Linked DNA regions of Homo sapiens: all the other regions are linked to region 1. The links are contacts of gene promoters, found by promoter capture Hi-C in blood cells and fetal thymus (Javierre and others, 2016). All regions are on one chromosome and are shown on one strand. Each heading gives the region's core, a stretch centred on a gene start or on the middle of the fragment in contact. The rest is flanking DNA. Distances are from core to core; before and after follow the strand shown. Region 1 holds the start of PWWP2B (PWWP domain containing 2B). Region 2 holds the start of INPP5A (inositol polyphosphate-5-phosphatase A). Region 3 overlaps JAKMIP3 (Janus kinase and microtubule interacting protein 3). Region 4 overlaps DPYSL4 (dihydropyrimidinase like 4). Region 5 overlaps INPP5A (inositol polyphosphate-5-phosphatase A). Region 6 overlaps INPP5A (inositol polyphosphate-5-phosphatase A).

What was found. Contacts are between HindIII fragments. The CHiCAGO score rates a contact against its expected background, and 5 or more counts as called.
Region 2: the fragment with the promoter of INPP5A here is called in contact with the fragment with the promoter of PWWP2B in region 1 in 13 of 17 cell types (naive CD4 T cells, megakaryocytes, total B cells and 10 more); the score reaches 13.8 in naive CD4 T cells.
Region 3: a fragment that was not itself captured here is called in contact with the fragment with the promoter of PWWP2B in region 1 in 1 of 17 cell types (total CD4 T cells); the score reaches 5.5 in total CD4 T cells.
Region 4: a contact is called between a fragment that was not itself captured here and the fragment with the promoter of PWWP2B in region 1, in 1 of 17 cell types (naive CD4 T cells). The highest score is 5.8, in naive CD4 T cells.
Region 5: a contact is called between a fragment that was not itself captured here and the fragment with the promoter of PWWP2B in region 1, in 1 of 17 cell types (total B cells). The highest score is 8.2, in total B cells.
Region 6: a fragment that was not itself captured here is called in contact with the fragment with the promoter of PWWP2B in region 1 in 1 of 17 cell types (naive CD4 T cells); the score reaches 5.2 in naive CD4 T cells.

What each region holds. Positions count from the first base shown.
Region 1 is chr10:132,395,085-132,398,449 of GRCh38, reverse strand. It overlaps PWWP2B (PWWP domain containing 2B), which reads right to left and starts at 1,250. Exons shown (of 3, transcript NM_138499.4): 1 at 1,099-1,250. The coding sequence starts at 1,223. It overlaps LOC124902526 (a long non-coding RNA gene), which reads left to right and starts at 1,894. Exons shown (of 2, transcript XR_007062342.1): 1 at 1,894-3,365. RefSeq lists enhancers at 1-192, 193-715, 2,286-2,808, 2,809-3,332 and silencers at 978-1,117, 1,128-1,237, 1,648-2,077, 2,098-2,477. The HindIII fragment of the contact is 15,859 bases long and covers 1-3,365 here.
Region 2 is chr10:132,535,916-132,539,065 of GRCh38, reverse strand. It overlaps INPP5A (inositol polyphosphate-5-phosphatase A), which reads right to left and starts at 1,279. Exons shown (of 16, transcript NM_005539.5): 1 at 895-1,279. The coding sequence starts at 969. It overlaps LOC107984282 (a long non-coding RNA gene), which reads left to right and starts at 2,143. Exons shown (of 4, transcript NR_158224.1): 1 at 2,143-2,340. RefSeq lists an enhancer at 329-378 and a silencer at 1,159-2,258. The HindIII fragment of the contact is 3,408 bases long and covers 1-2,317 here.
Region 3 is chr10:132,178,473-132,181,826 of GRCh38, reverse strand. The region is part of intron 23 of JAKMIP3 (Janus kinase and microtubule interacting protein 3); the gene reads right to left. It overlaps JAKMIP3-AS1 (JAKMIP3 antisense RNA 1), which reads left to right. Exons shown (of 4, transcript NR_184044.1): 3 at 283-366; 4 at 2,787-3,354. Among named protein-coding and RNA genes, the nearest start is that of JAKMIP3-AS1, 6.6 kb to the left of the region's middle. The HindIII fragment of the contact is 8,704 bases long and covers 1-3,354 here.
Region 4 is chr10:132,196,017-132,199,308 of GRCh38, reverse strand. DPYSL4 (dihydropyrimidinase like 4) reads right to left here. Exons shown (of 14, transcript NM_006426.3): 5 at 2,387-2,448; 6 at 2,208-2,288; 7 at 826-894; 8 at 338-458. Among named protein-coding and RNA genes, the nearest start is that of DPYSL4, 11 kb to the right of the region's middle. The HindIII fragment of the contact is 8,271 bases long and covers 1-3,292 here.
Region 5 is chr10:132,596,933-132,600,410 of GRCh38, reverse strand. The region is part of intron 1 of INPP5A (inositol polyphosphate-5-phosphatase A); the gene reads right to left. Among named protein-coding and RNA genes, the nearest start is that of INPP5A, 61 kb to the right of the region's middle. The HindIII fragment of the contact is 3,852 bases long and covers 225-3,478 here.
Region 6 is chr10:132,615,533-132,619,084 of GRCh38, reverse strand. The region is part of intron 2 of INPP5A (inositol polyphosphate-5-phosphatase A); the gene reads right to left. Among named protein-coding and RNA genes, the nearest start is that of INPP5A, 80 kb to the right of the region's middle. The HindIII fragment of the contact is 278 bases long and covers 1,443-1,720 here.

The sequences.
Region 1 (3,365 bases), core at 1-2,500:
ATGGTGGAGGGGATGGCAGCTCCCAGGTGGCGATTCTCACCCCCCGAGTGTCCCTCCATCCTGCCCGTGCACTCCCAGCGGTAGCCCACACGGAGCGGGCAGGAACCACACGGGAGCCATATGTTAAATCACGTGACTTGTGGATAAATGGCTTCTGGCACATCTAATGAAGAGATAACGTCTGCGAAATAATTGTGGAAGGAACACGGTCCTCTCTGCTAATTCATGTCACCAGGCAAAAATCTGGGCTCCACGGATGGAAAAAGTTGGGCCTTTACAAGAGGAGCCTTTCCCTGCTCCCAGTTTCAAAAGAAAGCCCTGCAGGAGCGCAGCGAGGCCACAGCCTGATTCATGCCTAATCATTGATCTGGCAGCGACAGCTCCCTGCCATGTGACGCGGTGTCCAGGAGGCTCATCTGCACCGCATGGGTCCCTGCAGCCCGTGCACAGGTGCCTCTCAGGAGGAACCGCCCCGCCCTGCCCTGCGCCCCCCACCCAGGAAGCCAGGGCTCCCGGGGGATGTGCCCACGGCTCCCACAGCTTGTACCTCTTCACGCCCCCATGACTCAGGGCTCCCTGGCCTGAAACTGTTCTTAAATCGCACAGCTGGGCGCAACTGCTCTCCCCGAATCCAAACCTCAGCCGCGGAGTCACTCCCAGCAGCCAGGGGCCCGTGGCCTTCGACAGGGCACCCCCACCTGTGAGGAACTGCCAGGGCAAGGCCACGGCGCATCTGACCCTCCCCTGCTTTAACGACAATTCTGCCAACAGTCGAATTCAACAGTGGCTCTGAACAAAGAAAAGTGCATTAATTATGGCAGATGTGTGGAGTTCCGGGACCCCGGCCCCGCGCCCCCCGCCCCGGCCCGCCCCGGCCCGGCGCCCGCCCCGAAAAGTCGCGACGACTTTGAGAACCACTTTTGCCCCCCCGAGTGGCGGCCGCGCTCGCGCGCCCCGAAACTCAGGCTCGGCAGAAACCGAAAGCGGGCGCCGGGGCCACGCCACCCCCAACCCGGAGGCGGGTCCCGGGTCTCCGGGCGGCGGAGGCGGGTGTCGCGTGGGGACCCCGGGGGTGTCCCGGCCCGCGCCCCCGCTCACTTTTTCGTGCAGTCCAGCAGGATCCCCGCGAAGCTCCGCTCGCCGCAGCTCACCGTGACCACCAGCGCGCCGTTGACGACCTGCTCCACCCGCACCGGCAGCCGGCAGCCGGCGCGCGGCTCCATGCTCCCGCCGCGTCCCAGGCCGCCCCCGCCCCGCCGCCGCCGCCGCCGCCGCCGCCGCCGCCGGGTCAGCCCCGCGCGTGACGCCGCCCCGCGGCCGCCTGACGTCACAAAGCTCCGCTGGGGCGGCCGCCACAGCCGAGCCGAGCCGGGCCGGGGGCGCGCGGCCGCGGGCTCCGCTCCCGGGGACCCCGCCCGCCGCCGCCGCGTCCCGGGAGAAGCCGCGCCCGCCCGCAGAGGTCGGCCGGACGCGCGGTGCGGACCCCCGGGCTGGAGAGGGGGCTGCGCCCGGGCTCGCGGCCCACGCTGGCCGGGAGTGTCCCCTGGCTCGGGAGGACCCGAGAGCCACGAGCCCGGGGGCGGCGGGGGGGACACCCGCCGCGGCCGGAGCCCCGGGACCCCATCCCCCCGCTCCCCTGCCTGGGGCCGGTCCCGGGCCCCCCTCCCCCTCCGGGCCCAGCCCTGCGCCCTCCCTCCCTCCCCGGTGGCCCGGATCCTCCCGCCTGGGGTCGGCCGCCCGCGTGTCCCGGCAGCGCCCCGCGCTGGGCTCTGGTGGCCCCGGGCACTGCGGCGAGGAAGTCCCGGGCGGCGCGCGCAGGAAGCCGGGGCAGGCGGAGGGGACGCGGGGCGCCCGGGGGCAGCGGCCTAGTGTCGCCCTCGCCGCGTGGGGGGCGGGACACTGGGTCGCCCCACTGGGCTCGGCGCCTCTCGGGGCGACAAGCGGGCGCGCGCCCGGCTCAGGGCCACCCTGCGCGCCTGGGGGTGGCCGGCACCGGGGCCCGGGGGGTTAACTCCCTCCGGAGGTCTCGGGCGTGTCTCTTCGGGTTGCCGGGCCCAGGGGCCAGGCGCGCCTCCGCCAGTTTACAAAGGAAACAGCCTCCTTCCCCCGCGGCAGGGGCTCCCCGACCCGCGGGCGAGGAGTGGGAGGTGACGGCGCCGGACCCCCTTCCCCCAGGCGCCCGGCTCCCGCGCCTTCAGGCGTCAAAGCCCCCGACTTCCCCGAGCACCAGCACGTCCGCACCCGGCTCAGAACGCAGGGGCCCGGCCTGCTGCGGTGACCTTGGCCCCGGGCCGGGCTTCTGAGCCGGACTTGCAGCGCCTGACGAGGCCTGGAGGCGGGGCGGGGGACCGCGTAGTTGTCCTGGCGACCCAGCGCCGCCGGGCAGGGCTCCTCCCAGCCTGGGAATTGAGGACCACCGCCCCTGGTGCCACTGGGGACCGTCGGGTCGCTGGCGCCTGTCGACCTCGCCCTCCGGCGGCCGCGCGGCAGTGGGAGCCTCAGAGAGGAGCCAGGGCGGAGTGAGGGAGCCCGCGGGGCCTGGGACACCTGACCGTCCGGCTAGAACAGGGGTAGGGACCGAGGCCGAATGAGCCAGAGTTCTGGCCGGGGACAGTCCCAGAGGAGGCCTGGAAGCCCAGTGAGTGTCTGTCCTCCTCTGTGTGGCCTGGGGCTCCCGCCAACACTAAGCCCTTCCTGGGGCCTCAGGCACCTCAAGGCGCCCCGTTCTCCAGGGTCAGCCAGCCCCTGCCCACTGGTTGCCAGGCTTGCAGTGGAGCCTGCCTGCTGTCCTGCCCACAGGCCTCTGCAGCTGCCCCCTCCAGGGGTGGGGCTGACTTTGGAGGAAAAATGCCAGGCAGCAGGGACCCCCTCGCCACCCTGCTCCAGGTTGGGCTGAGCGGCCATCCTGAGGCTGCCCACTTGCTTGGCTCTTCTTCCTGCCTGCTGGAGAGGCCTGCTGGGCACTGCCCTTTCTGAGCATTGGGGACTGCCAGGGTGAATCAGCATTCAGGCTGGTGGGGCCAGCATGGGGTGGGGCTAATGCACAGGGGGCTGTATGTGGGTGGAGGGATCCAGAAAGAGTGTCCAGGGGAGCACCAGCATTCACCAGGGCCCCACCAGGTGGGCAAAAGCAAGGGCTTCCGAGGTGGGGGTGGGGGTGGGCAGGATCCTCTGCAAGGTGTCTGCGTGCGCCTGGGGCTCCTGGTGACTTCCCACGCCAGCAGGAGGAACAGTTTGGGGTGTGCTGAGGGACCCACCTGTGGACTTGCTGGGCTTTGAGAGGAACCAAGGCTGGGTGGCGGCGGGCAGGACAGGGGAAGAGGGTTCCGGGGCACAGAGGGCCAGACAGATGCACCCAGCAGCTG
Region 2 (3,150 bases), core at 30-2,529, 140 kb before region 1:
GAGGAAGGGGCCAAGGATGGGATCTAGGAACCAGAGTTAGGGGCAGGGTCCAGAATTGGGTTTGGGGCCTGATTCTGGAACCAGGGTTCCAGGTTCAGGGGTCAAGGACAAGTGTTCAGGGCCATAAGCTGGGGCCTGAGGTTGAAATTCAGGGTTCAGAGTCAGGCTAGATTGGCTTTAGAGGCAAAGGGCCACAGTATGAAGGCTGGGATTCTAGGGCTAGAATTCAGTGATTGGGGAACAGGGACAGGAGGTTGGGGCCACAGCCCTGTGTCAGAAGTTCCTGGGTTAGGGTTTGTGGTTATGTTTCAGGGTTTGGGGTCCAGGGCTCAGGGACCAGAGACAGACGTTTGAGAGCAGGTTCTGTAACCAGAGTTCTGCAGTCAGGATTTGTGGTTCCAGTGACCATGGACCTGGGGTTCAGGGCCAGGGTTGGGGATGGGCATTCCAGGGCCAGGGTTCTGAGGATTCGGAAATCAGGGCTGGGGCTGGGTTTGGTGCGCACAGACCCGGTTTCTGGGGTTTGGGTTCCAGGAACTGTTAACAGGGGTTCTGACAGGGTTTTAATATTGGAGTTTCGAGGTCAGGATTTGCAGACAGGAGTTCAGAGGCAGGGTCCCAGGGTCAACGGTCAGCTGCTGGAGTCTGGAGGATGGGGTTCGGGGATTCAGGGCCCAGGTCTTCAGGTCTCGGGCTTGGGGATCAAGACAGGGGTCTGGGCTCCCAGACTTGGGAATCAGGACAGGAGTCTGGGGTCCCGGGTACAGGGATCAGAGTCTGGGGCCTCTGGGTCTGGAGGTTCACGGTCCAGGGTCCAAGGCTTGCAGTTCGGGACCCCGGGGTCAGGGTCGGGGGTTCCGGGCTTGGGGCCTGCCGCCGGCACGGGGGACTTACGTCGTCGAAGAGCGAGCCCACGTTGGCCGTGACCAGCAGCACCGCGGTGCCCGGGGCGGCCGCCTTCCCCGCCATGGTGCCCGGGCGGCGCGGGCGCTGGGCTGGGCGGCGGCGGCGGCGGCCGCTTCCTCCGGGACCGGCCGGCCGGGGTCTTCGCGGGGCCGCGGGGCGTCAGCTGCGCCGGGGGGCGGCCCCGGGGCGCATCGCGGGCTCGGCGGGTCGGCCGGGCCTGGCCGGGGCTCCGGCCTCGCGCTCGCTCGCTCGCTCGCTGCTCCGCGGCCCCGCGCCCGTCGCTCGCCGCCGCGCCTCACAGCGGCCCGCGCGCAGCCATTAGATCCGCTGGGAAAGTTCCCGCAGCCGCCGCCGACTCAGGCTGAGGGCAAGTCCCGCCCCGCGGAGCCGAGCCCGGGGCGGGGCCTGGGCGGGGCGGAGCCTGACTCGGGGTGGGGCCTGTGCGGGGTGGAGCCGGGCCTGGGGCGGAGCCTTGCTGGGGGCGGAGCCTTGAGGTGCGGAGCCTGAGTTGGGCCTAGATCTGAACAGAGTGGGGCGGGGCCTGCGGGGGGCGTGGCTTGTGCGGGACTTGGTGTCCTTGTGGAGGCGGGGCCTGCCCCGGGGCGGGGCCTCCTTTCGGGGCGGGGCCTACGCGGGGCGCTCTTGCGACCGGCGGCCTAGTACTGGTCGCTCCCGGAGGGCGCTCCTGTCAGTCAGGCCCGCAAGAACGCCGCGCCCCCGCCCCGCCCCCCGCGCCGCGGCTGCGCACAGACTCCGCCCTTCGCACTTCTATGACGTCACGGCCCTGCTCCGGCGGCGCCTCTTAAAGGGGCCCTGGGTTCCGGGCGCCGGCGGCGGGTGCGCTCTCTTGCGGCTCTGAGGGGATGTTCCAGCCCCCGCGCGGCCGCAGTCGTCCAGCCGCGTGCCGGGCGTGCGGGGGAGGGGAGCCCACCGGGGCGGCGGCAGTCGCGCCTGCAGGGGCCGGGCCACGCGCGCCCGGCTCTCCGCGCAGACGGAGCGTGGACCGTGCAGCTTCCCGGCGCGTCCACCCGGCTCCCTGGCCGCGACCTCACTCACGAGGAGCGGCTGCGGCCCAGAGAAGACGGAGGGGAGGCGGCGTGAGGCCAGGCGCATCCTGACGTCGCGGAGGGCTCCGGCCCGGGCCAGGCTGGGTCTCAGCGCGGGGCGTGCAGGGAACCCTCGCAGGGACGAAGGGGGCTCCAGGGGAGGGGGCTGGTGCGGGCCCAGGAGCGCAGAGCACGGAGGAGCAGCCGGCTCGGCGCGGGCCCCGGGGCAGCGATGCTGATCCTGGCCGCCGGAGGGGCCAGAGCATGGGCTGGACCCTGGGTCTGAGGCCGCGGGGACACAGCCGCCGTGAACCGGGACATGCCTGTAGATGGAGGAGGAGAACCACATTTGTCATCTTAAAGCTTCCAGTAGCTACATTTTTTAAAGGTAACAAGTAATAGCCAAAGTTAACAATACGTTTTACTTAACCCAATAGATAGATACATCATTCAACATGTAACCAGAATTTAACAACCTCAGTGAGATTCCTTCACAGGAAGGCTTTGCACGGGCACCTGCCTCTTGGCAGCAGCTCACAAGGCCGCTTCCAGTGCTCAGCAGCCCTGTGTGGCCAGTGGCCACCATGCGGAGCAGGCACTCCGGAGGATTTTGTGGACACAGATTTAGGGGCGGTCAGGGCCTGGCAATGGGCTCTAGCGAGGCTAGCCTCCAGCTTCTGAGTAAACCGCCAAGGCAATGCCCAATGACATCAAAAGGGGCTTGTTCTGTTCTAGGAAGACACCTGCTGCCAGGGCGGGGCGGCAGGAATGGTGCTGCAGGCTCGGGCCCCAGGCCTGTGCTGAGGCCGCATCACTGGCTTGTGTTAACACCCCCAGGGTTCCTCCTTACGGCCACCGCTGAGCAGGACTCCAGCAAAATCCATTTGATGTATAAACCAATGTCTACTTTAGTCAGTAGGTGCCTGCTACAGACTGAATTCCGCCCGCCCCACCCCACCCCACCCCGCAAATTCATGGGTTGAAGCCCTAACCTCCAATGTGACTGTATTCGGAGGTGGGCTAGCGGGGGTAATTAATGTTAAGTCGTGCAGTAGGGCTGGTGTTTAATGTTAAGTCGTGCAATAGGGCTAGTGTTTAATAGAAAGGGCTCAGTGCTGTCCCCACCCTTACATGTGCAAAAGAAGTGGCAGTGTGAGTGCACAGTGGGAAGCTTCACCCCAGCCAGCCACAAACCCTG
Region 3 (3,354 bases), core at 405-2,904, 220 kb after region 1:
GAGGGGCGGGAGTGAGGGCACGCTGGGACAGAGGCAGAGGGCCCGGCCGTAGAGACACCACGGTTTTCTAATCTAGGAGAGGTCTGAAGAGCTTTTTGGTTTTTGATTTAACCTAACTTCTAAGTAAGAAGATATTACCTCAAACAGAATGAAAAATAAATGTAGTCAAATGACACATACATGTTTACTTCTTCCCGTATTAAGCGTTACAGTTGAAATCTCTGCTGCAGTTAACATAGTACCTTGTTCTTTGTGCCTTTAATCGGGTTCGTTTCTAAATAGGTTGTCCCGGAACCATCGATCTCTAGAAGGTACAGGAGGAAGGGGACCTGCCAGTCCAGCCCTCATATTTTACAGAGGGAAAAGGTGAAGCCCCATGTAAAACAGGGATTTCCCTCGGTGACACTTCCAGGCTGAGAAGGGCCGGGGATCTGGACACCTACCCAGAAACACTCCCACCCTGTCAATGCCTCTCTGAATTATGTGATCAACTGCCTGGAGTATGAACTAGGCACATGCAAATAGAGAACAGAGGTCTTGTTGAAAATATGATGCTGAATTTTAAAAACTCACTCCCCAAATTAAAGGAACAAGACCAGAGCATTTGGTTTCCTGTGGTCACTTGATCCCTCTCCAGAGCCAGCTGCTGCTCTCCATTGTCAGCACACTCCACTCACTGCCCTATTTCCAGAACAGGAGACTTTCTGCCCCATCCATGGCCGCAACATACCACTCACACACACACACTACATGTGCACGTACACACAATGCACAATACACATACCTGCACATGTGCAAACAGCACATACACACTGCACATGCATGTACACACAATACACTACACACACATGCCCACACAATACGCACAAATGCACTGTACATGTGTACACACAATGCAAAATACACATACAGGCACATGCAATGCACAACACATACACATACATGCACATGCCCAAAGACACCACTCACACACAGCACACACATGCACACGATATATACACACATGCATACACAACACACCACTCACAGCACATGCATACGCGCACACACACACACGCACACACACGCACACACGCGCGCGCACGCACGCACACACGCACACACACGCACACACACGCGCACACACACACGCACGCACACACACGCGCGCGCACACACACGCACACACGCACACGCACACGCACACACGCACGCACACACGCACACACACGCACACACACACGCGCACGCACACACACACGCGCACGCACACACACACGCACACACACGCATGCACGCACGCACACACACACACACACACACAGTTCTGCTTCCAGGTTTGCAGTCTTCCCAAATCCCTCCCGCCCTACCCCATCTGTTCCGTCTCTTCTAGGGAACGTGATCTTCTCCCTCCCACCCACCCTCCCCTTTCTGGGCACTGTCCCTCACAGTCAGCTGAGGACCTCATCCAAACTGGAGCCATGTCAGGCACAGGACAGGTGGGAGGCAGCCATCCATGGGTCTGGCCTTGGTCTCTGTGGCTCCATGGGGCTCCTCAATGCCCCCAAGCAAGCTCTGGCACCCCAGGGTCCTCACTCAAGAGTGTCTCTGTGGACAGGCCTGAGGCTGCTAGCTGCAGAAGTGCCTGCTTGCAACGGTGGCCATTGGCTGGCGTCTGGGAACTTGGCTTCGAAGCATTCCTTTAGTGAGGAGGTTCCTGCCTAGACTGTGCAAACAATGTGATTCATGGCAAACACCAGCCTTCCTTTTGAGGGCCTGGCATGTTAGTGGGTGGGGGGCGCACAACTGAGTAGCCCCCAAATCAAAACCATGAATTTTGGGTCTTAGCTGGAATTTCCCGAGCAGAAACACTGCATATATGGGGCTGTGTTTTGCTGCTGGAGGGAGTGTGTGCCCCGTGTGCACCTCACAGGGGGAAGAGCATGGGAGGGGAGAGAGCACAGGAAGTCTGCTCACAGGCCTCTCCAGGCTGTGCCTGTGAACTCTTCCCTTGCAGATCCAGCCATGCCTCCCGATTATAGGGCTGCGATAATGGTGTGGCTGTGCCATGGTGTGGCTGTTGTGGTGTGACCCTGCCGTGGCGTGACCCTGCTGTGGTGCGACCCTGCCGTGGTGTGGCCCTGCTGTGGTGTGACTGTGTGCTGAGTCCTGTGAATCCTAGCGAGTCCCCAGAGATGCAGGTGGTCTCGGGGACCCCCAGAACATCTGCTTTCACTGTTGCCTGGAAGTGTGGGGGGTGGGGGGAACATGGGGCTGCGAATTGCCTTCAGGGAGCGCATTCTTTTACGTACTTGGCCATTCACGTGGCAAATGTTTATGTGAGTGTATCAGTGCCACAGTAAGGGTTCCGCGGGAGAAACCCAGATAATCCTCATCCCAAGAGCTCCCAGTTCTCAGGGAGGGGGCAGGAAAGTGCTGCTCAGGTGGCTGAGCTTCGAGTGACAGGAGAGAGGTAGGATGTGGGGAGCTCAGGCATAGTGCAGGTGGAGCCCCAACCAGCTCAGAGCCCGGGGAGCCCAAAAGTCCCGTCAACAAATACAGCCCCGTGACCGTGCATGATGCTGGGGGAGGATGAGCACTGAGGGCCCCTGCCCTTCACGCTGGAGGGGAAAGCCTGGGTAATTTTATCTTGGGCTGCAACGAGGATAGCTGATGAAGTGTAGGAACAAGTTGACAACCACAATCATGAACTTGGCTCATTGGACAGTGCCAAGGGCGGCAGCAGGGACAGGAGATGGCAGCATGCCTGGGGCACCACCCAGGGCTGACACAGGGTGTTTCCACAGGTCGGGGCCCCCAGCCCCACGGGCACGAAGGCACCAGAACCTCGCTAAAAGCTGCAGGGCAGAACCCTCATCAATACCACCATGGGTACCACGTGCAGACGTAGTCGTACATATGGATCAGGAAACAGCATTCTGATTGATGTCAAAACAGAGCCGGAGGAACAGGCCCCTGCCGTCTGTGTGTGCTGGAAATTTCCACTGGGATCTCAACTGTTTGGAAACATAACTCAGTTGGCAAGGAAGACAAGAACCTTCCTGGGGTCCGGAACTCTGCCTGCTTCAGAATCAACAGATGATGAATGCCACTGGAAGGCTCGGGACCTACAGCCTCAGTTTCCAAAAATGTGCATGAGACAAGCAACCCCAGGGTTCTCACACAGGGTGAGCCGCTTGGGAGGGGGTGAGACCCTGCAGTCTGGATCCTTGCTCTTCCCCAACACCGCCCCACAAATACACAGATTCCCAGCTGATAGGACATGGAGTGAGGGCCAAGCACAGGACCTTTCCCCATATGCTCTTTTGTCTGAGAAACTTTAGCCAAACATTTTCAAACCAAACAGAAACAAAT
Region 4 (3,292 bases), core at 700-3,199, 200 kb after region 1:
GAGGGCCTCCTTGTTGGAACTGGAATTCTCTCTTGGAGACCCTCCTCATCATTCCATTCTCCCCACACCCACCCCCACTGGAAATGGGATGAGCGTCCCCATGTTTTGCCTCAGGGCCCCTGGTGAGCAGCTGCTGCTCCAGCAAGGCTGGAAACTCAGGTCCAGCCCCTGCCCCGATGCAGGGACTCAGGGTCCAGTGCCCCACCCCGATGCAGGGACTCAGGGTCCAGTGCCCCGCCCCGATGCAGGGACTCAGGGAACCTGCATCTCCCCAGGGCTGCACCCAGGAGGCCGAGACCATGGCCCCTCGGCATCAGAGGCGGGGCTGGGTGCTCACCTCTGCGCTTGGCCTGAGCGATGGCGTCGGCCGCCCCCTTGCTCATCACCTTGGTGACGTACAGCGGGCAGTTTGCCTGCTTGGCGATGGTGACAGCTCGGTACACCGCCTCAGCCTCCACCTGGGGACGAGATGAGAGGGATGAGGCCACACGAGGGCCCTGGGGCTCCAGACCAGTGTGGGCAATGGGGATGCCCAGGTGTCACCCATGGGATCCCAGGCTCAGGGCAGCCTAGTAGGAGCGGCCCAGCCTCGGGCTCAGTGCCTGGGCCTGCCCACGCCACCTTCTGGGCCTCGGGTACAGGCTGTAGGGTTGTGGGGGGATGGAGGACAAGTGCCTGGCACGGGGAGGATTCACGCCTCCCAGATGAGGTCGGGGCGAGCACAGTGGCAGGGCCAGGAGCCCAGGGCCAGGGTCAGCACAGCCCCAGGCAGCAGTGGTCTGGGCGGAGTTGGCTCGGGTGTGCTGTGGTGCCCTGGGATCTTACCTCCTCGGGGTGGCTGAGCACGTGGCCCTCGGGGCCAGTGATGCCGAGCTCCAGCAACCGCTTCTGCTCCTAAAGAAACCAACAGGATGCCTCGCTCCAAGCCCTGAAGGGAGCCTGGGCCTTGGATGCTAAGCCCAAGGCTGGGAGGCCCCATTCCCCAAGTGGTCCTGGACCCCCAGGCCTCCCAGAATTTCCCAGCCACAGAACACTCAGAATAGAGGGCAGAGGGGCTTGGAGAGGTGTGATTCCTGCTCCCTGAGTTACCAAGGAGGGGACAGCTCGGATAGGGGAAAGTGGCTCCCCCAAGGCTGCAGGGCTCCTGACTGATGGCACCAAGACCCCACCCTCCCACCACTATGCCCATCACGCTGCCTCCCCCAGCGGGGGCATGTGTGGGGGTGTGCACAGGCAGGGAGGGCTCTGCAGGTCAGGAATGGACGACCACTCCTTCCTCCAGCACTGCCTTTCCGTGCAGATTTGCACTACGGCATCCGCTCGTGTCAGGGAAGACATGGTACCGGCCAGAAGCAGCAGCCCCAATACTGAGGCTCCCTCCCGCTGTATGTGGAGCATCCCTAGACCCAGGACAACCTCCTGACGGTGCAGCCGGGGCCTGGCCTTGGGCCACAGAAGTGTTTGTGATGCCCCGATGCCCTCACAGCTGGACGGGTGGACGAGGACACTGGGGACCCCCCACATGCCCCTGCCCGAGTGCCACCACCTTCCTGTAGAGCTCAGGAGGTGGGCAGAGCCCGTCCCGTCCCACGAAGTCTCACTGTGGGTTTGCAGTGTCAGGGAGGTGTGTCCTGTGTGGTGACCCCCACTGAGGTCCCACGGGTATGGGGTGGCCCACTCTCTGAACTCCATCTGTACCTGTGGGTGCCTCTGCTAGAGGGGAAAACAAGGTGCAGGGCCAAGGTTGCCTCAGCCCCAAGGGCCTGGGGGGTCGGCGCCACTGCACGCGGGCTCAGGCCCTCCCCAGCCCGGTGGGATGTGTCTGAAGGATGTGGCCCTGTCAACATGGGTGCCCTTGGCTGGAAGGAAGGTGGTAACCCAACCCCCAGCGGGTACCCCGCTCCACAGGAGGGGCCTCGATCCCTGGGGCTGACACTTTGCTTTTGAGGTATTTTGGATAAGAAGTGTTGATCAAGGAGAAGCTGTTTTATGGCCTCAAAGCTCCCCATCACCCCCCAGTCTCTCTAACTCACTGGTTGACCTTTGACTCGGGGTAAGCTATGACCCTCCCTCAAGGTTTTGTGGGATTCTGTGCTGATGTCTGCGTATCATGAAAGTCACCCTCAGACCCCTGCCCCACCCCACAGGCAGCCCCTGCCCCACGGCAGCCCCTGTGCCTGCCCCACGGCAGCCCTGCCCCACGGCACCTCCTCCACGATGTCCCCGTTCTCAGCGTGCACCTGGGCCAAGGCCCCCAGGTCCCGGATGATGCTGAAGATCTCGTACATCTGGGAAGAGAAGTGGTGGCGTCCTGGGTGGGGCTGCGCCTGCACCAGCAGCGGCCTGGGATATACCTGCCCACTCCGTTCCCCACGCCTGCCCTTACCTGGCTGTCGCTGCACTGGCACCGGTCCTTGTATGCCATGAAGACCAGGAAGGAGTTCACACCTGGAGAAGAGGCAGGGGTCAGAGGCTCAGCCATCACCAGTCAGACAACCTACGGAGCCTCTGCTGCTCCTGCCCACTGGAGGGTTGGGGGTCTTGGGCCCCTCCCCCGCAGTGCTTCCCTCACTGGCTTGCCAGCCCTGGGAGCAGTCCCCCGCTTCCATGCACACACCAGCAAGCTGGGAAGTGAGGCGGAGGCAGCTACATCCAGGCCCTCCTTGCCTGCTCCTGTGCTCCGGGTTAGGAACTGATTGTCCACCCAGCGGCAAATGCAGGTGAGAACCCCTCACACCCATCCAGCAGACCCCCCGTTACTGGAAGAGCCGCTGTGCCTGGGCTCTCGGCCTGGGTTCCACTGGCTCCCTCCTGGAAGTGCGGCCAGGGCCGCGCTGTGCTGGGGACCTGCATTCTGGCCGTCCAGCACATCCAGCACCTGCCTGCAGGGCCTTGGAGCCCCACTTGCCATGCCTGGCTCACAGTGCAGGCTTGTGGGACCACCCAGATCTCAGGGCTGGGCCCTTAGGACGAGCAGAAGGATGAGGGGCTGCCTCTGACGTTGGGGCCCAAACAGGAAGAGGGCTGAGCTCTCCTGTTTCCTGGGCAGCCACAGCCCATCCACCTCCCCCAGGACTCGGAACTTGTGTGGGGACCGGCCTGGGCCTGGAGGCAGGATCCCAACCTCCCATCACTCAAGCCCACCCAACCCATGGCATCTCCTCCTCGCTGGGTGGAAAGTGCTAGTGTGACAAGCTAAGGCACACTGGGGAAACTGAGTCACACTGTGCCCCACAAGCCATCCCTCCAGGTAGCAACCTGTATGTGACCTGGAGTTTGAGGCCTGCCCCCG
Region 5 (3,478 bases), core at 901-3,400, 200 kb before region 1:
GATGAGGAACTTGTTGGGAACTGGAGCGAAGGTGACCCTTGTTATGTTTTAGCAAAGAGACTGGCAGCATTTTGCCCGTGCCCTAGAGATGTGTGGAACTTTGAACTTGAGAGATGATTTAGGGTATCTGGTGGAAGGAATTTCTAAACAGCAAAACATTCAAGAAGTGACTTCAGTACTGTTAAAGGCATTCAGTTTTCTAAGGGAAGCAGAGCATAAAAGCTTGGAAAATTTGAAGCCTGAATATGTGATAGAGAAGCAAAACCTATTTTCTGGGGAGAAACTCAAGTCAGCTGCAGAAATCTGGGTAAGTAGCAAGGAGCCTGTTGTTAATCCCCAAGACCATGTGGAAAATGTCTCCAGGCCACATCAGAGACCTTCATGGCAACACCTCCCACCACAGGCCCAGAGGCCCAGGAAGAAAAACTGGTTTCATGGGCCAGGCCCAGGGTCCCCATGATGTGTGCAGCCTAGGGTCTTGGTGACCTGCATCCCAGCCACTCCAGCCGTGGCTAAAAGGGGCCAACATACAGCTCGGGCTGTGGCTTCAGAGGGTGGAAGCCCCAAGACTTGGCAGCTGCCAGTGGTGTTGAGCCTTCAGGTGCACAGAAGACAAGAACTGAGGTTTGGGAACCTCCACCCAGATTTCAGAAGATGTATGAAAATGCCTCGATGTCCAGGCAAAAGTTTGCTGCAGGGGTGGGGCCCTCATGGAGAATCTCTGCTAGGGCAGTGCAGAAGGGTAATGTGGGGTCAGAGCCCCCACACAGAGTCTCTATTGGGGCAATGCCTAGTGTAGCTGTGAGAAGAGGGCCACCATCCTCCAGTCCTCAGAATGGCAGATTCACCAACAGCTTGCACTGTGTGCCTGGAAAAGCCGCAGACACTCAATGCCAGCCCATGAAAGCAGCCGAGAGGGAGGCTGTACCATGCAGAACCGCAGGGGCGGAGCTGCCCAAGATCGTGGGAGCACACCTCTTGCAACAGTGTGACCTAGATGTGAGACCAGGAGTCAAAGGAGATCATTTTGGAGCTTTAAAATTTGACTGCCCCGCTGGATTTCGGACTTGCATCGGCCCTGTAACCCCTTTGTTTTGGCCAATTTCTCCCATTTGGAACGGCTGTATTTACCCAATACCTGTACCTCCATTGTATCCAGGAAGTAACTAGCTTGCTTTTGATTTTACAGGCTCATACATGAAAGGGACTTGCCTTGTCTCAGATAAGACTGGACTGTGGACTTTTGGGTTAATGCTGCAATGAGTTAAGACTTTGGGAGACTGTTGGGAAGGCATAACTGGTTTTGAAATGTGAGGACATGAGGTTTGGAGGGGCCAGGGATGGAATGATATGGTTTGGCTGTGTCCCCACCCAAATCTCACTTGAATTGTATCTCCCAGAATTCCCACCTGTTATGGGAAGAACCCAGGGGGAGGTAATTGAATCATGGGGGTTGGTCTTTGCTGTGCTATTCCCATGATACTGAATAAGTCTCAAGAGATCTGATGGGCTTATCAGAGGTTTCCGCTTTTACTTCTCTCTCATTTTCTCTTGCTGCAGCCATTTAAGAAGTGTCTTTCACCTCCTGCCATGATTCTGAGGCCTCTCCAGCCATGCGGAACTATAAGTCCAATTAAGCCTCTTTTTCTTCCCAGTCTCAGGTACGTCTTTATCAGCAGCATGAAAATGAACTAATACAATTCCCAAAAGAACTGAAAGCAGGAACTTAAACAGATATCGGTACACCCACAATCAGCCAGAAGCTGGAAGAAACCCAAGTGTCCATCCACGGACAAATGGATACAATTGTGGTCTATCCACATAACTCAGCCTTAAAAAGGAAGGGTATTCTGACTATGCAACAACCTTGAGAACATTATGCTAAGGAAAATAAGCCAAACACAAAAAGACAAAGAATGTATGATCGCACTCATGTGAGATATCTGGAGTCATCAGATTCATGGAGACAGAAAGTAAAATGTTGGTGACAAAGGAACTGGGGGCAGACAGGGACTCAGTGTTTAACGAGGACAGAGCTGCAGTTTTACAAGATTAAAAGAGATCTGGAGATGGATGACAGTGATGGTTATGCAACATTATGAATGCATTTCATGCCACTGAATTGCACCCTTAAACATGGTTAAGATGGAAAATTTTATACCCATTTTACCGCATTAAAAAGGTGGAGGTAATCTCCATCGCCACAGCGCCACTCAAGCAGCCGAGCCACACACTGAGTCTCCACACGTCTGAGAGCTGCACTTTACTCACCTCATATAAAATGAAAAAAAGAGAAAGTTCTGACCCTAGCAGTAGGAAGGGTAGGTCCCAGACGCCCAAGCGAAATCAAACAAAAACTGCAATTGAAATTAAAACAGACAGTAAATCTGAGACCTGCCCAAAAGGCCCAGAGTCACTATGTGTAGCACAGCCCGGGAACACGCACCACAGGCCCAGGGTCACTACGCGTAGCACAGCCCCGCAGGACGCACCACAGGCCCAGAGTCACTACGCATAGCACAGCCCCGGAACACGCACCACAGACCCAGAGTCACTGCGCATAGCACAGCCCCGGAACACGCACCACAGGCCCAGGGTCACTACGCGTAGCACAGCCCCGGAACACGCACCACAGGCCCAGGGTCACTACACGTAGCACAGCCCCGCAGGACGCACCACAGGCCCAGGGTCACTACACGTAGCACAGCGCTGCAGCACACACTAAAGGACAAAACACTGGAAACAGAGGAACAAGCAGACACGTGCAATGCACACAGATGTTAATACAGTTTTTACAACCGCTCTGCATATAAACATATCCCCAACATGTAACACTATTGTTTAACTTGCCTAATGCATTCCTGAAGATGTGTAAGAAATTATATAATTTCTTAAAATTCACAACTGAAATAACAATATAATATCCTAATATGTGACTCAAATTTTATCCCACTGAATGTAAGCACTTTCACAACAAACCACAATATCCTCAATGAAGAAAATGTGGATATAGAAACTTCCCACCACCTGCAGGAACAGGGGAGATGGCCCGAGTCCTTGTGGATGAGCTGACAGACCACATCCAGACACCCTGACACATCTTCTGAGACTGAGAGAAGAGGGAGAGGACAGTAGCACAAACACTGAGAAGAACAGAAAAGGTTCTGTCACTTAGGGCTTCAAATTACTAGAAAATAAACCCTCGGCCATGAAAACACAAGTGCATGTGCATACGCACACATGCGCACACACACTCACACACATGCATGCACACATGCACACGTGCACATACCCATGCACACACATGCAAACACATGCACACATACACACACGCACACACGTACAGGAGCCTGCACACACACATGCATGCATACACATGCACACATGCACACACGTACAGGAGCGTGCACACAAACACACGTGCATGCACACACGCATGCACACACGCACACATGTGTGCACACACGCACACATGCGT
Region 6 (3,552 bases), core at 332-2,831, 220 kb before region 1:
TTGGGGGGACTATTGAGAAGGGATGATTGTATTTTGAAATGTGAGAAGAACATGAGATCTGGGAGGGGCTGGGGCAGAATGATACAGTTTGTATATTTGTCCCCGGCCAAATCTCATGTTGAAATGTGTCCCCAGTGTTAGAGGAGGAACCTGGTGGGAGGTGTTTGGATCATGGGGGCAGATGCCTCCTGAATGGACTGGGCCATCCCCTTGGTGATAAGTGAGTTCTTACTCTTGAGTTCACATGAGGTCTGGTCATTTGAAGGTGTGTGCACTTCATCCCCACTCGCTCTCTCTTGCTCTGGCTTTCACTGTGTGGCATGGCTACTCCCCCTTTGCCTTCTGCCTGACTGAAAATTCCATGAGGCCTCCAAGGGCTGAGCAGGTGCCAGCACTAAGCTTCCTGCACATCCTGCGAACCGTGAGCGAATTAAACCTCTTTCCCTCATAAATTACCCAGTCTCGGGTATTTCTTTACAGCAAAGCAAGAATGGCCTAATACACTCTTCTTCCATGTTAGCTGGAAACAGACACTGCCTATCACATCATTCTTAAAATTACCATCAGGAAAAACTGTGAAAGACTTTAAAATGAGCAATAATGAGAGTGCCTCCATTTAGCTCACCTATTTGGGTTATCTCTACCTTTAGTTGTCTCTGAGCTATGTTGCAACTCTGTGAGTTTAAAAGCTGATGATGATGGAAATGATTCTTGACCACAGAAATGCACAATGTCCAGCAGATGTGATGGATCATGACCCTGTGGACAGTGCCAGCCTTGCATCCGTGAAGCACACTCATGTCAGTACTGCTGATGGGAGAAGCTATTTGCCTACATTCTGGATTCTTCCCTGAACCAGTTCTACATCTTACTGGGTCTCTCCCTGATAAATAAACAACATTTATTATCTCAATTTAAAACTCTATTTTTAAAATAGGTATTTAAAGTGAATAAGTACCTATTCATTTTATATTTGCATGACAGACAACATTATATCCTGTTTTAAAATTTATCCTCATTCCCACAAGCAAACTTTAAACTACCTCAAGGTCCAACAGAAAAACAACTTTAAAAAATTAAGGCCTAACTATATCATAAAATATTCTGAAGCTATTAAGATAGACAGCATATATTAATTCACATAGAAAGATTTCCCAGCTTACAAAAAAGGCAGAGAGAGTAAGCTGTACGCACATGTGTCTGCTGCCCACTTGTGGATGACCCACTTGTGGACTGCACACCTGCCCACAGCCACGCAGGCAAACACATATGATGGGGTGTGCATCATGCTGGAGGCAAAACTGGGGAAGGAAAGAATGTTTATCCTTTTCTGCTTTGATCAGTATCCTCAGACTTCTGTGTGGCAGGCAGTTGCTCCACACACGCCACGTGCCAGACGCAGTCAGGTGCTCGGTGAAGCAATGCACAGATAGCCAGAAGCTTCCACTCCATGTACTGTCTTTGTCAACAGGAAGAAGGTCACAATGGATGTCCTGGCTACCTCACCTGCAGTCTGAGGATTCAAGATCTGCACTGGCCACACGAGCAGGTAACAGCCGCTCCTCCACACCCTTCAGGTGTGGCTCACAGGAGACCTTCCCTCTGGGAAAGGGGTCCTCCACCGCCTCTCACCCAGGCAGTGAGCGTGTGTGAGTGTGAGCATGCCCACGGCCGGTGGACATCCCTTCCTCTCGTCCCTGCAGTCACCGGAGGGAAAGCTTCTTGTCCTTAGATCAGACCAGGAGGCAGAAGGGCCCTGAGAGAGCCACAGGGTGGCTTTGCCCCAAGCCACACTGCACAGGAGCTCTGAAGGGCGGGGACTGTCTGCTGAGCTGCCTGCAAAGAGCCAGAGCCCAGGGCCAAGCAGGGTCTGTCCTGGCTCTGCCTCAGCCTGTGGCTTCGTGGCTCCCCACCTCAGCTCGTCACTGGGAGACCAAGAATCAATACAGCCACCAACCAGGGCGCGGTGTTTGAGGAGTCACCAGATGATGGAGGGAGAGAGAGCCTGCAGAATCTTCCTACAGGTGAAGGCTGCGGGGCTGGGCTGGGACATGATGCCGAAGCTGCAGAAGCGGCCTGCATCTGACCCCAGGGAGCAGACAGACCCAGGCTGCTTCGAAGGACCTCAGGCGGCCTCTCCCCACCAGCGCAGCAAAGCAACTGGCCAGCACGATGGCTCCACAACCCCCAAACATCCTCACTCCCAGAACAGACTGCCCAGGAGCTCCTGCAGCGTGAAGCTGGCCTTCCTCCCTGCTGCATGGTGCCACTCGCCACTGGCCAGAGCTACAGGAGATCCAGGACCCCATATCCCCCACGCCACGTCCCCCATCACCACATGACACATCGCCATGTCACCATGTCCCCCACACTGCATCCTCCACGCCACATTACCACACCACCTCCATCACCACCACACCCTACCCTGTCACCATGTCCCATGTCACTACCATGTCCCATGTCACCACTGCAACCCCAAAACCACATCCCATGTCACCACCCCATCCCCTATCACCAACACACACTATGTCACCACCACGTCCCATACACCATGTCCCATGTGACCACAGCATCCCACACACACCACATCCATCAGCACCACATTCTACACCACCACCACATCCTGCGTCACCACCATGTTCCCAATACCACATATCCCACACCACGCCCACGGCGTCCCCGCACGCCACATACCTCACACCACGCCCACGGCGTCCCCGCACGCCACGTGCCCCACACCACGCCCACGGCGTCCCTGCACGCCACATGCCCCACACTGCACATCTGCCACTGTGGTCCTCCCTTGGATGCTTGTTCACAACCAACAAAGCACAGGCACCTCCCACTGCAGCTGCCTCCCACGCCACCCTGTGGTTCTTTCAGGGCCCGTCTGCCTCCCGGTCTGACTTAAGGACAAGAAGCTTCCCCTCCAGTGGCTGCAAGGACAGGAGGAAGGCATGTCCACTGGCCATGGGCATCCTCACGCTCACACACATGCTCCTAAAACGACGCACACGACCATCCCTCACCGCTCCCCACAGGACCCGGAACCGGCAGCTACAGAGGGTGAAGCCCATCACCACTAAGAGGGGAGGCCCCTGTTCCCCAGGCCCAGGGCCTCAGGTGCCAGGCCCACCAGGCCATGAAGGTCGCAGCCTCTCAGCTGAGAGGCTCAGCTGCACAGCTTTGTTTATCCCAGCCGCCCAGAGCGGCAGACACCCCCTTGCCCCAGCCTGGGGCCTCCCAGCCCCTCAGTCTCCAACCAGCTCCTCCACCAACCCAGTGCCTACACTCCACTGACCCAGGGCCCACTCTGTCCTCAAAGCCCGCCCCTTCTCCTGGGTCTTCTTAGCTTCAAGCAAGGGTGCCCACCTCAGTCCCAGCTGCCCACTCTCCAGCAGGGCCAGTTCCTACCCCAAAGACGGGGCCCTCAAGCAAAGGGGCCTGCCCAGCTGCTTCACCAGGGGCAGAAATGCAGCCGCAAAGCTGTGTGTCGAATGCAGGCTGGGTCCCACCCCTTCGGTCAAACCAAGCGCAGTGAACTTCCAGGTT